3 separate regions of the Homo sapiens genome follow, and all the other regions are linked to region 3. Evidence: promoter capture Hi-C in 16 types of primary human blood cells and fetal thymus (Javierre and others, 2016). All regions are on one chromosome and are shown on one strand. Each heading gives the region's core, a stretch centred on a gene start or on the middle of the fragment in contact. The rest is flanking DNA. Distances are from core to core; before and after follow the strand shown. Region 1 overlaps RNASEH2B (ribonuclease H2 subunit B). Region 2 overlaps RNASEH2B (ribonuclease H2 subunit B). Region 3 holds the start of EBPL (EBP like).

Region 1 (4,087 bases), core at 459-2,958, 1.2 Mb after region 3:
GAAGCTGGCTATCTCAGATAAACAAATCTGGAACTTGGAAGAGATACTGTGAGATATGCAGACTTGGGACGTTGGTTTTCATAGGCTGGTGAAGACAGAACCATTTCCCATTTCAGCAAGGCAAGCATTTCTTTTAGTTTGGGATGGTCTTAAATGTTTCTGTAAAATGGCCTGGGAATACTAGCCTGTTTGCAGTTTTAATTTCTATAAGAGGCCATTACTTTACTTTTTGGAAAGTAGTATAAGTTTCCATCCCTCTTTTTCTGCCCTAAAAGTAAATGTTTGAGTCATATTTTTAATGTTTTTCTTAAGTCCATTTTTCTTGTTAATGCTACTAAGTTGGGATGTACCCAGGTGTGAGAGGTCACCTGATTCATTGCGTTTAGAAGACTGCATTTATTGCTGTTGGGGGCTGAACAATTAATTGGGTTCATCTCCAAGGAAATGTTAATTGGGAAACCCTAACATTGTGTATTGAAAAAAAAAAAAAGAAGAAAAATCATTTCAGGCCTGTTAAAACAAAACTCATTTGGGTTCACTTAGGCTGATTAAAATATTCCTTAATCAGCCCCCTGATTAAACAGTCCTGAGGTGAAACTGCACCTCAACTCGAATTTTCAGTTAGAGACAAGTTTTGCAATAAAGTTATCCCCCTTTATTTCATGAATATACATGTTAAAAAGTATTTTAGGAAAGATTGCACTTATTATTTATTTCTCCACAGAAAGCAGTTTCATGGAGGTAGAGGATGGGTTGCTTTTTGGGAGATAAGAATCCCTGTCTACCTTAGACATTTCAAATACAATAACAGCTTTTTATGTGAGGCATCGTGATAATCACAAATGATTATACCAGAGCTATCTTTCCAATTGGAATGCAAAAATAGATGTGGAAGGATTGTATAAATTCATGCATTAGAACTATGTTCTAATTAAAGGATTTAAAAAATAAATTTAAAAGGAAAAACTAATTTTCTTATTTAATGATGGAGAAAATTTATATTAATGTTATTTCTGATTACAGTCTTGAAGATTTTTTTTTTTTTTTTTTGGTCCACCAACTGGCATAATTGTAGCTTTTTATAAGTCCAAAGAAATGCCTCTTGTTTTGGGGGAGGAAAAAAAGTAAAGGTTTAAAGTGTATGGCAAAGGAAGAACTACTATAGATTTAACTGACTTTTCAGTGACACTAAAAAACACTCTTTTCCCTTCTTTACCTAATGGCTCATGGTTAATCTCAGAAGAAAAAGTTAAGCAGGATTTTTGTTCTTTGTCAAAACGGTATGTATGTATATGTTTGTGTTTAGAAATATACGTGAGGGCCGAAAGCTTCCTTATTTTCAGAAGAGATGAACTTCACTTGGCACATGATAGAGAACCTGGCCAATTCAAGTGCTGATTTTAGACAACCTCGGAATAATTAAGCTCAGCTTTTTGGAAGATGTGTCATTTACCGAATAGTCTACTGCAGGCAGTCAGCAGTGTAGGAGTCTCAGAGTTTTCCAGCATAGAGCGTGTTTAACATTTTCCACATGAATCTCAGTCTGGCTTTGTTTTTGCAAAATGTTTTTCGGTGGGACCCGACTGACCTTTCTCAGATGGCCACTGGATCTGCTCCCCTTGCTATCTATCTGAGCACGTTCTGAAGTGGATGGACTTCAGTTGCCAGTTGGTGTAATCAGGCTGTTTCCAGAGTCTGATCTTGTCCCTTTAGTAACTGTTCCAAAATACTTGGGACATTTATAAGTAAGAACTCATGACTCCCACATATTTATCCTCCAGGTCAGAAAAAAATTCATAAAAGGAAAGCAAGCAGTGTTCATGATTTTTTATTTGAGTAACAGAATAGGGACTGCATGGATTCTCCCACATCCTCTGAGACTGTGATTTTAAAAAACAAACAACTCAGTCAGTGTGCTCCAAAGCCTGGCTATAATAACACAGACTTAAAAGCTAGATTTATGCTATTTATTAGCTCTGTGTCATTGGGTGGTTTACTTCCTCACTATAAAGCCTCACTTTTGTCATCTCCACAGTGGGGAGAAGAGTACCAGTCTCATGGGGTTGTTATCTGTGGTTTGAGTTACTCATAAGCTTTCTTACACCTCAAGCTTTTAGCCCTGGGCCTGGGACAGAGTAGATATTTCAATAAATATTTACTGAACGAATAAAAGTCTCACATTCCATTTCTTCCTGCAATGTCTTTGCTTATTCTGCTTTTTCCTCCCCTTCTACTTCTATCCAAATTCTACCCTTTCCTCAAGGTTCCATTCAACTTTATTTTCCACAAAGCTAAGCCATTTGCTCCAGCTCAGCTTCTCCGTCTTGACTTTGTGTCTGCCTGGAATCCTGCCTGCTCTTCACTTTATCTACCTGGCAAATTCCTACTTATCCTTTAAACCCAGCTCAAGTATCACCTCTACCAGGAAGCCTTCCCATGGGTCTCTCCTCTTGTTACTGCCCAGGTTCGTGGTACCTCTTTGACCACCTACACATTTCATCATGATTATTCATTTAAGTGCCATTTTTATATAAATATGTATTGAACACCTAATACATGCCAGGAGCTAGAGAGAGTCCAAGTGTGTTTTCCCTGAGTGGCCATTTCGCTTCTCAGTGTGGGCACCTCAGCCTTCTGCTTCAGAGCACAACCTCCAAACAGTAGAGCATGTCACGTAGGATTTCCAGGCCTTTATTCAGAGCTACCTTTATGACTTCCTTGTCTAAGGATGACTGTTTGCTAAAGCAGAATGGGCCACCCCGTGGCAAGGGGATGTAAGGGATTTGGGGCTGCATGTTCTAGTCCCTGTTTCATTATCTGTCCCCGAAACAGCTAAGCTGGAGGCTGGCTTACTCCTCCGAGGGCCTAGGTCTCAACATTTGGTAAGGCTCTCCTGCATGATTGGCTACCTTTGCCTGATTGTTTTTAAAGATTTTTTGTTATTGTTGTTGCCTTTTAACCTTCTTTTGACCAGTTAACTCTACATTTACACGTTTTTCTCACAGTGGTTTTTTTTTTTGATAACTTTAAATAATTAGAATAATAATATTTACCCAGTATAGAAATTCTAGTAATATGGGGAAAAAAATAAAGAATAAAATAATTTGTCCATCATCCTCACCCAAAATAAAAATTTTGGAGATATTTCTTTCCAGTTTTTTCATGTTGTTTACATTACAAAATGAATTCCAATCTTCTTAAATTTTTTTTTCTTATTTTTCTATTTTTGCCTTTATTTCATTGTTTACCCTTACTACTTATTTAATGTAACACTAAAACACTCAGGGAGATTGGGGTTACATAAAAGTTTATATGGTGCTGTTCTACATAAAATTGGAGAAAGTTCAGTTGATTTAATAGAGGTAGGGGCTGTTTTTTTCCTCTTAATTTTGATAAGGACAGAAACTCACACAGTGATATGAAACAAGTTGACAAAGAGAATTTGTATTTTAGGCTTTGAACATTGAAGAGGTGTAATACTTATTGCTTCAGACAGTAGACAGTACATATTTGGAATGGGTTATCTTTGAAAGTGGATAAAGATTGAAAATACAAATAGGTGCAAAAGAGGTAAAGATACATTTACAGAGCTGTATTGGACCCAATGGCAAACTAGGATGTTTCAAAAGCCATTCAAAGCAGGTTACATTTTTGAGGACAACCATAGCCTCCTGCAAACATCCCTTGGTGTGCTTTCCTGAAACCGGATACTGGTTTGAATAGCCTGTGAGTCTGCCTTAGTATGGAAATTGCCATTTTTTAATGTGGGGTCAGTGCACCTGGGTTGTGTGTTACAAAATCAAACATGAACTTCTTTGGGAGTTCCTTAGCAGGTTCACATCCTCCCAGGAAGGAGCAGGGGTGGTGGAGAGCATAGGACATCTGGCCCTAGGGTGTTGCAGCAGCAGGAGTCCAGGGTTTCTGCCTCTCTGAGTGTTAACTTCCTCTTCTCAAACTAACTTCCTGCATTTAGTGAAAAACTGGTTTCACGTGATTCCCAAGCTGCAGATCCCCCCAGTGTCTGCTGGGAGGGGTCTCTCCTCTTAGTTCCAGTTTGAAACCTTTCAAAACAGCCTTCTGACTGGTC
Region 2 (3,882 bases), core at 587-3,086, 1.2 Mb after region 3:
ATACAGATTGGAAAGTCAGTAGTACAACTGTCTTTATTCATAGACAATATTGTCATGTATGAAAAAATCCAAAAGAATCTACAAAAGAAGTTACTAGAATTGATAAGCAAAGTTTCAGGATACAAGTTCAATATACAAATATTAGTTGTGTTTCTATATACTGACATTGAACAATTGGATAATGGAATAAAAACATACCATTTATACTACCATTAAAAATAACATTCTAGTGCTAAATGTAACACAATATGTTCAAGACCAATATGCTGAACATTACAAAATATTGCTGAGAGAAATTAAAGAAAAATTAAATAAATGGAGAAATAGGCCATGTTTGTGGATTGGAAGACTCAATATTTTTAAGGTATCTATTTTCCCCAAATTACACTATAATTACACTATATAATTACATTATAGATTCAGTGTAATACTTAGCCAGCTCCATTTTTTTTTCTTTTTTTTTGGTAGGTATTGATAAACTGATTCTAGAATTTATATGACTATGTAAAGCAGCAGAAGCAGCAGTCTCCAACCTAATTTTGGCAGCAGGAACTGGTTTTGAGGAAGACAATTTTTCCATGGATGGGGCAGGGAGGGGGATGGCTTTGGGGTGAAACTGTTCCACCTCAGATCATCAGGCATTCGATTCTCATAAGGAGCACACAACCTAGATCCCTCGCATGTGCAGTTGACAATAGGGTTCGCACTCCTATGAGAATCTAATGCCATCACTGTTCTGACAGGAGGCAGAGCTCAGCCAGTAATGCTCACTTGCCTGACACTCATTCCTGCTGTGTGGCCCAGTTCCTCACAGGCCATGGATTGGTACCAGTACATGGCTTAGGGACTGGGGAGCCCTGATGTAAAGGACCTATAATATTCAAAACAATTTTGAAAAAGAAGAATTTGGAGAACTTACACAAACTGAATTAAAGACTTACTATAATCAAGAAAATGTGGAGATCAGGCACAATGACTCATGCCTGTAATCCTAGCGGTTTGGGAGGCCGAAGCAGGAGGATTGCTTGAGGCTGAGAGTTCGAGAACAGCCTGAGCAAAGTAGCAAAACCCCATTTCTACAGAAAGTTTAAAAATTAGGCAGCTGTGGGCCAGGCACGGTGGCTCACGCCTGTAATCCCAGCACTTTGGGAGGCCAGCGCAGGTGGATCATGACGTCAGGAGATCGAAACCATCCTGGCTAACACGGTGAAACCCTGTCTCTACTAAAAAATACAAAGAACATTAGCCAGGTGTGGTGGTGGGCACCTGTAGTCCCAGCTACTCGGGAGGCTGAAGCAGGAGAATGGCATGAACCCAGGAGGCAGAGCTTGCAGTGAGCCAAGATCGCGCCACTGCCCTCCAGCCTGGGTGACAGAGCGAGACTCTGTTTCAAAAGAAAAAAAAATTAGCCAGCTGTGGTGGTATGTGCCTATAGTTCCAACTATTTGGGAGGCTGAGGAGGAAAGATCACTTGAGCCCAGGAGGTCGGGGTTACAGTGAACTGTGATCACACAATTGCACTCCAATTTGGGTAACAGAGTGAGACCCTGTCCCTAAATTTAAAAAATAAATAAAAATAAAATAAATTTGGTGTTGGTATAAGGATAAATATATAGATAAATGGAATAGAATAGAGAATCTAGAAATAAACCCACACTTATATGGTCAATTGATTTTTTTTTTCCAAAAGTGTGAAGATAATTCAGTGGGAAAAAGGATAGTCTTTACAACAAATGTTGATGGAAGAATTTGGTATACATATGAAAAATAACGTTGATTCTTACCTCATACAGAAAAATTAATTCAAAATGGATCACTATGTTAAATTCAAAAATGAAAATTATTGAGCTTCTAGAAGAAAGCATAGGATAAAATCCTTGTTGTCTTGGGAGGCAAAGATTTCTTAGGACACAAAACCCACTAACTGTAAAAAAATTATAAATTGTATTTTATCAAAAGTATTCTCTTTTGTTTTTGAAAAATGCCATTAAGAAAAAAGGAGATTGTGAGTTGTGGGACAGTTGGAACTTACCTACCTGGCTGTCCACGGCTTAAAATGATATAGCCACTTGACAATTTCTTACAACTCAGGAATTCTACTACTCCCTGGTACAAAGTAAGGAACTACTGCTAGCTGCAACAAAATGGATGAATCTCACAGAAATAATGTTGAGCAAAAGAAATTGGACACAAAAAGTATATACTATATCATTTCATTTCTATGGTGTTCCAGAATAAAGCAAGAATTGCCCTATAATGATGGATGAGTGGTGACCTGTGATCTGGGTAGCCATGGGAGAATTGACTACATAAGGGTTCCAGGGAACTTTGGGGGATGATGCTTACATGACTGCATACATTTTTCCAAACTCCTCGATTTGTACATTTAAAATGGGTGTGTCCATTGTGTGAACATGAACATTGCGTGAACACCTAAATAAAATTCATTTTTAAAACAATATTTACTGATCCAGCACTAGAAGCTAAGCCTCCTGATTTCTAACACAGTATTTATTTTTACTTGCCCCTTTCCCCCAAAATAATATTGGCTCCTTTTCTCTCTATACTTCCTACCTCCCATGGGATGGAGAGATGGAATGTGGGAGGCAAGGCCAGTGTGAGCACTGGCTCTGAGGTTTAGGCCTCGATATTCAGGAGAGTGGTGTAGGAGGAAGATGAACCACTGGGTTTTAGACACATGGAGGCTTAGTTCAGGGCTTTGGGCCTCCCGGTTAGTTTGTTTAGTCTTGTTGATCTAGGAGGAGATCACACCAGATGAAAGGATACAGTTGACTTTGGAGGAGGGTGAAGCAGAGCTGGGAAAAGAATCAGATAAGTCATTAGAGACATAAAAAAATAGAAAGCAATTTTATATATGCCATGGAGGAGAGGTTGTTAGGAGGTACTGAGGAAAGTGCAGACCTAGTGATCTTGGTAAAGTGAACATCAGATCCACAGCTTTGATGTCAGCATGGTTGGGAGTTGGGTGCTCTTGCCTACTTCCTCAGTGACTTAGGAGAGTTTACTTCATGTCACTCAGAGCCAGTCTTCGAAGATGGGGACAAATCATGGTTTATTAATTGATTCTGAGATTCATTCTGATCATTCAATAAGAAAATGTATAAAATGTGCCTAGCACAGACCTGAATAAACATTAGTTTCTTATGTTTTATTAACAAATCATATTTTTCATCACAATATCTTAGCTAATATTATGTATTTGCTAAGTGGCAGGTGTTGTGCTCTAGGATTTGTATGGATTATCACATTTCATGCTCAGAATAGCCCAGTGAGAAAAAAACCTCTCTTTACACATGGGGGAACAGGCTTTGAGCACGAGGCGGCTTCCCAAGGAGACAGCATGTGCTGGGGTATGCATGAGCCCTGGTAGCATGGCTCAGTCTGTGCTCTCTGCCCCTTCTTAGAGAATAATTCCCAGAGGTAGAGGAGAAGCCTCCTAGTGGGGCTCAGGGAGTGGGAGACAGGAAGGAAAACAGCAGCAGATGGTAGACATTCTTTGAGAAAATTTGGAGGTAGAGGCAAGAAAGAAGTGAGATGCCAGATCAGGGTAGGATTTTCAGGAGAACCTTGAGCAGTGAGCTTCTTTTGGAGTTTTTTTTTCCTCAGGCAATGAACATAACTTCTAAAAGCCATTCAGCGTCATATATTTATTTAGTGATTGCTGTATGCTCTTAAAATTCCCCTGGTTTGTACATCGGTTGGGACATGGGCTCCAGGGAAATTGAGTCCGGTCTCATTGGCTTTGGCTTACAGTAGGCTGTTTGCCCAGGTAGTCCTGGCTCCAAAACAGCAGACATTGCACCTTGGAATTCTGACACTCCTGACAATGCTTTTGCACCTGTCCCTCTTTTTTGTTACTGT
Region 3 (4,022 bases), core at 363-2,862:
TGGCGGTGGCTCACGCCTGTCATCCCAGCACTTTGGGAGGCCAAGGTGGGCAGATCATCTGATGTTAGGGGTTTGAGACCAGTCTGGCCAACATAGTGAAACCTCATCTCTACTAAAAACACAAAAATTAGCTGGGCGTGGTGACGGGCGCCCGTAATCCCAGCTACTCGGGAGGCTGAGGCAGGAGAATAGCTTTAACCCAAGGGGCGGAGGTTGCAGTGAGCCGAGATAGTGCCACTACACTCCAGCCTGGGCAACAGTGTTAGACTCTGTCTCAAGAACAACAACAAAAAAAAAGACAAAAAAAAAAAAAAAGAATTCTATAAATAAAGGAGTTGAGAGAAACATTCACTGTCCCTTATCTCTACATGTTGATTATCAGAATAAAAAGAATTCCAGCAACATCAGTCATGGGCACAAAGCCAACCCGTAAACATTTACAGAACTCGATGATTACCCAAAACTCGGCTTGCTTTCTCAATACTACTGACTTTGGCTTCACATTAGCCACAGGTGTGTCTAGAGTTAAACAAGGTCAACTTTACAAAAAAAAAAAAAAACAAACTGATACTTGGGCATAGTTTAAAAAAAACTTAAAAGTGTGTGTGTGTGTGTGCGTGCGCGTGTGTGGTGGGGGGCGGGGCATTTCAATATAAATGCCTTAAACACAACCTTCCTGGCTATTTTATAAAATGGGTTGAATCTCTAAGGACACATATTTCCTAAGACCTCGACTGATACACAGAGTGCAAACTTGGGAGCCAGACTAGACTGCCTCAGAATCATGCCAGCTGTGTGGCACTGGAAAGTCACCTAATTTTGCAGCGCCTACCTTCACCTCTGTAAAATGGGGAACAATAATAACTAATTTATGGATGCTGTAAAGATCTGAAATTTTAAACTCAGTAATGCGCCTGGCACACATTAGACACGGGTGTTTCGTTTGTCTTGGCAAAGGCTTCGGGTTTTGCGACAATAGCCTTGCTGCCTCCGGAGCAAGCATCTCTCCTTGCCCCCTCTGGGGCATTTAAAAATGACCTCAATTCTACTCTCAATTATGTCCAGTTCAACAGTTACGTGCAGGTTACAAAGCCGAGGAAGCTGAGGTATCTTCTAAACTAACATAGCACGTACAGAATTTTTTTAAAGTTTGGTGGAGGAATCGGCAGCACAAGGTAAGCTGCGCTCTGTTCACAGACCTGGGAATCAGAACTCCGGCCGCCGCGGCCTCCAGGCGCCTCTCAGCTAACAGACTTCCTGCAGCAGGGGGAGGGGCGGCCAGCTCGCTGCAAAAAGCCGCAGGACCCCCTCACCCCGCCTTGCCGCCCCCGCTCCCACTCTCTGGGATGGGGAGTGCAGGGTCTAGGCGATGGCACTTACCAGCGCGAAGTGCACCAGCGCGTCGTAGCAGAGCCAGATGAGCGCCCCGCGGTCCGCCGCCCCCTGCCCGCGGCCCAGGCGCAGGCCCAGGGCGCAGCCCGCCGCCAGCAGCGCGGCGCACAGCAGCAGCGAACCGCCAGCCTCGGCCCCCAGCTCCCACTCAGCGCCCATGCTTCAGGCTTCCGACGCCAACGGCCCAGGACCATGCGGCAGAGGAAAGCAGGGAGAGAAACGACGGGGCGGGGCTGGCCGGGAAGGGGCGGAGCCGGATGGCCAAGGAGGAGCGGAGCTGATTGGCCAAGGCGGTCCGGGGAGGGACGGGGCTCCCCGGCCGGGTCGGGGCCAGAGCGAGGATTCCGTGCCCGCCTCGCACCCTGGCCAGCCTGCTGAGTCCGGTGGTTTTGCCAGGTGCCGCCCATGGAGGTTCCGTAGAAGGAACGTGCTCACCAACTTGCGCAACCGCCTCGACCAAACCTGTTCCCAAACCGAGCCCAAAGGATTGGTAATAGGGCCACACCTTTTGATGTTGTTTCGCTTTTAACAAGGCTCAAACTTTAAGCCACAAAGTGAAGCCTAGGTAGTGGAAATTTTGCCAGTAGACCGGGGCAGAATTTTAGGGGCAAAAGGTTTTAATTAGGCTGCAGCAAGCCTTACCAGGGAGGCTGGGGGCCAAGGGAGTTTTCAGCCACCAGCCGGCTTAAAGCCTTTATGGCCTACTCTGACAATCTTTCCATTTCTTAAAAATCCAGAAAAGTAGAAGGGTGGGTGAGAGGAGCGGTAAGTCCTATTGGCTTGGCGATAGATGCGTTTAACCTGTGGCAGGCCAGGTTTCACTATCGCAGGCCTCCATCACAACTGCTTCAGCACTGAGTGGTTAAATTAAATATTAAAAGCTGAGGCCGGGCGCGGTGGCTCACGCCTGTAATCCCAGCACTTTTTGCCAAGGCGGGCGGATCACGAGGTCAGGAAATCGAGACCATCCTGGCTAACACGGCGAAACCACGTCTCTACTAAAAATACAAAAAATTAGCCGGGCGTGGTGACGGGCGCCTGTAGTCCCAGCTACTCCGGAGGCTGAGGCAGGAGAATGGCGTGAACCCGGGAGGCGGAGCTTGCAGTGAGCCGAGATCGCGCCACTGCACTCCAGCCTGGGCAACAGAGCGAGACTCCGTCTCAAAAAACAAAAAAAAAATTAAAAGCTGAAAGAGTCAGTGCCCATATACCAAAGTCTGGAATGTAACAAAAGCCCACCAAGAGTTTTGCCTAGGCCTTTCTTGGGCCTTGAAGCATGACAAGATAACTAAGGAATTTTTAACAGGACCCGTTTAGGATTAAACAAGTTTTATTGGGGGTCTGAAGAAACTCCCCAGGCCTCCAAAAACAAGTTTATTGGGAGTCTGGAGGAATTCCACAAGCCTCCATGATTTAGCAAGAGACAAAATAAGGGTAATCATCCCAGCACCCAGACCTATTTAGATTAAGTAAATTTACTGAGGCTCCAGAGGAAGGTCTTCAGGATTAGAAGTTGTTAATCACTTACGTCTTTAGATGAATGCACTCTTACACGTAGACATATAGCTTAGAAGGTATATACGCTCTGGAAAAACTTTGTAATTATGAGTTGGTCTGGCAATAATTTCCAGACCTTCTCCCTGTAACCGGTTGCAGAAATAAAAACTCTTCTTCCCCAGTTCATCTGCACCTCATTATTGGGCTGCCCAACCCCCAGTTTGGTCCGGGAACAAACCTACATTATTTAACATCACAACAACCCTATGAGGTCGGTGAAATAAGCCAGTCACAAAAACATACTTATGATTCCACTTACAGGAAATATCTAAAATAATCAATTTGCAGAAACAAAATAGAATGATGGTTACCAGGGGTGGGGCGGGGCGGGAGTGGGGGGGGGGCGCGGGGAAAAGTGGAGTGTTATTTATTCGGATAGTTTGATTTGCAAGATGATGTTCTGGAGATTGGTTGCACAACAACGTGAACATACTTTACTGAGCTGCACACTTAAAAATGGTTAAGATGGCAAATTTTATGTGTATTTTACAGTTATTAAAAAAAATGCTGGCACTGAACACAAGAAATTTTTCCCTTAGTCACTTCCTATACCATTTTTTATAGCAGTTAACACCAGATAGAATGATCCTTGTTTACACACTTATTGCTAATCTCCTGCCACTATAATGTAAGTCTTCAAGGCCAGGGGTTGTGGCTAGCTTTTTTATTGCTGTATCCCTGGCACCTATTACAGAGTTTGGCATATATTAGCTGCTCAGTTAAATAACTGGCGACTGAGTATGGTCAATCTAGCCACCTATGCTCTGGATCCTGTCCTGTAACTAACTTATCATCCTTTAGGGACCACTCGGCCCACCTCCCCTTCAGAGCAAAATAGAAACTTAATGAAAAAACTGATCAGATCCCCTGTCTTCATGTCTTGACCCTGCTCCTCAGTCCTTTCTACTCTGGTTTCTGCCTTATCACACTGATATAGCTCTCACTAAGGTGACTACTGGCCTCCACATCACTGAACCCCAAGAACAGTTCATTTTCTTAGTGTAGTTTACTTCTCAGCAGCATCCCAGCACTGAAATATTTTTCCTTTGGTTTTCTGAGAATACAGCCTCCTT

What was found. Contacts are between HindIII fragments. The CHiCAGO score rates a contact against its expected background, and 5 or more counts as called.
Region 1: a contact is called between a fragment that was not itself captured here and the fragment with the promoter of EBPL in region 3, in 6 of 17 cell types (naive CD8 T cells, naive B cells, naive CD4 T cells and 3 more). The highest score is 8.0, in naive CD8 T cells.
Region 2: a contact is called between a fragment that was not itself captured here and the fragment with the promoter of EBPL in region 3, in 1 of 17 cell types (total B cells). The highest score is 6.6, in total B cells.

Annotation. Positions count from the first base shown.
Region 1 is chr13:50,913,012-50,917,098 of GRCh38, forward strand. All of the region lies in intron 1 of RNASEH2B (ribonuclease H2 subunit B), which reads left to right. Among named protein-coding and RNA genes, the nearest start is that of RNASEH2B-AS1, 4.3 kb to the left of the region's middle. RefSeq lists an enhancer at 1,892-1,981. The HindIII fragment of the contact is 765 bases long and covers 1,327-2,091 here.
Region 2 is chr13:50,937,966-50,941,847 of GRCh38, forward strand. All of the region lies in intron 5 of RNASEH2B (ribonuclease H2 subunit B), which reads left to right. Among named protein-coding and RNA genes, the nearest start is that of RNASEH2B-AS1, 29 kb to the left of the region's middle. The HindIII fragment of the contact is 6,799 bases long and covers 1-3,882 here.
Region 3 is chr13:49,689,874-49,693,895 of GRCh38, forward strand. It overlaps EBPL (EBP like), which reads right to left and starts at 1,613. Exons shown (of 4, transcript NM_032565.5): 1 at 1,381-1,613. The coding sequence starts at 1,551. RefSeq lists an enhancer at 908-1,905 and silencers at 1,369-1,508, 1,539-1,738. The HindIII fragment of the contact is 12,052 bases long and covers 1-4,022 here.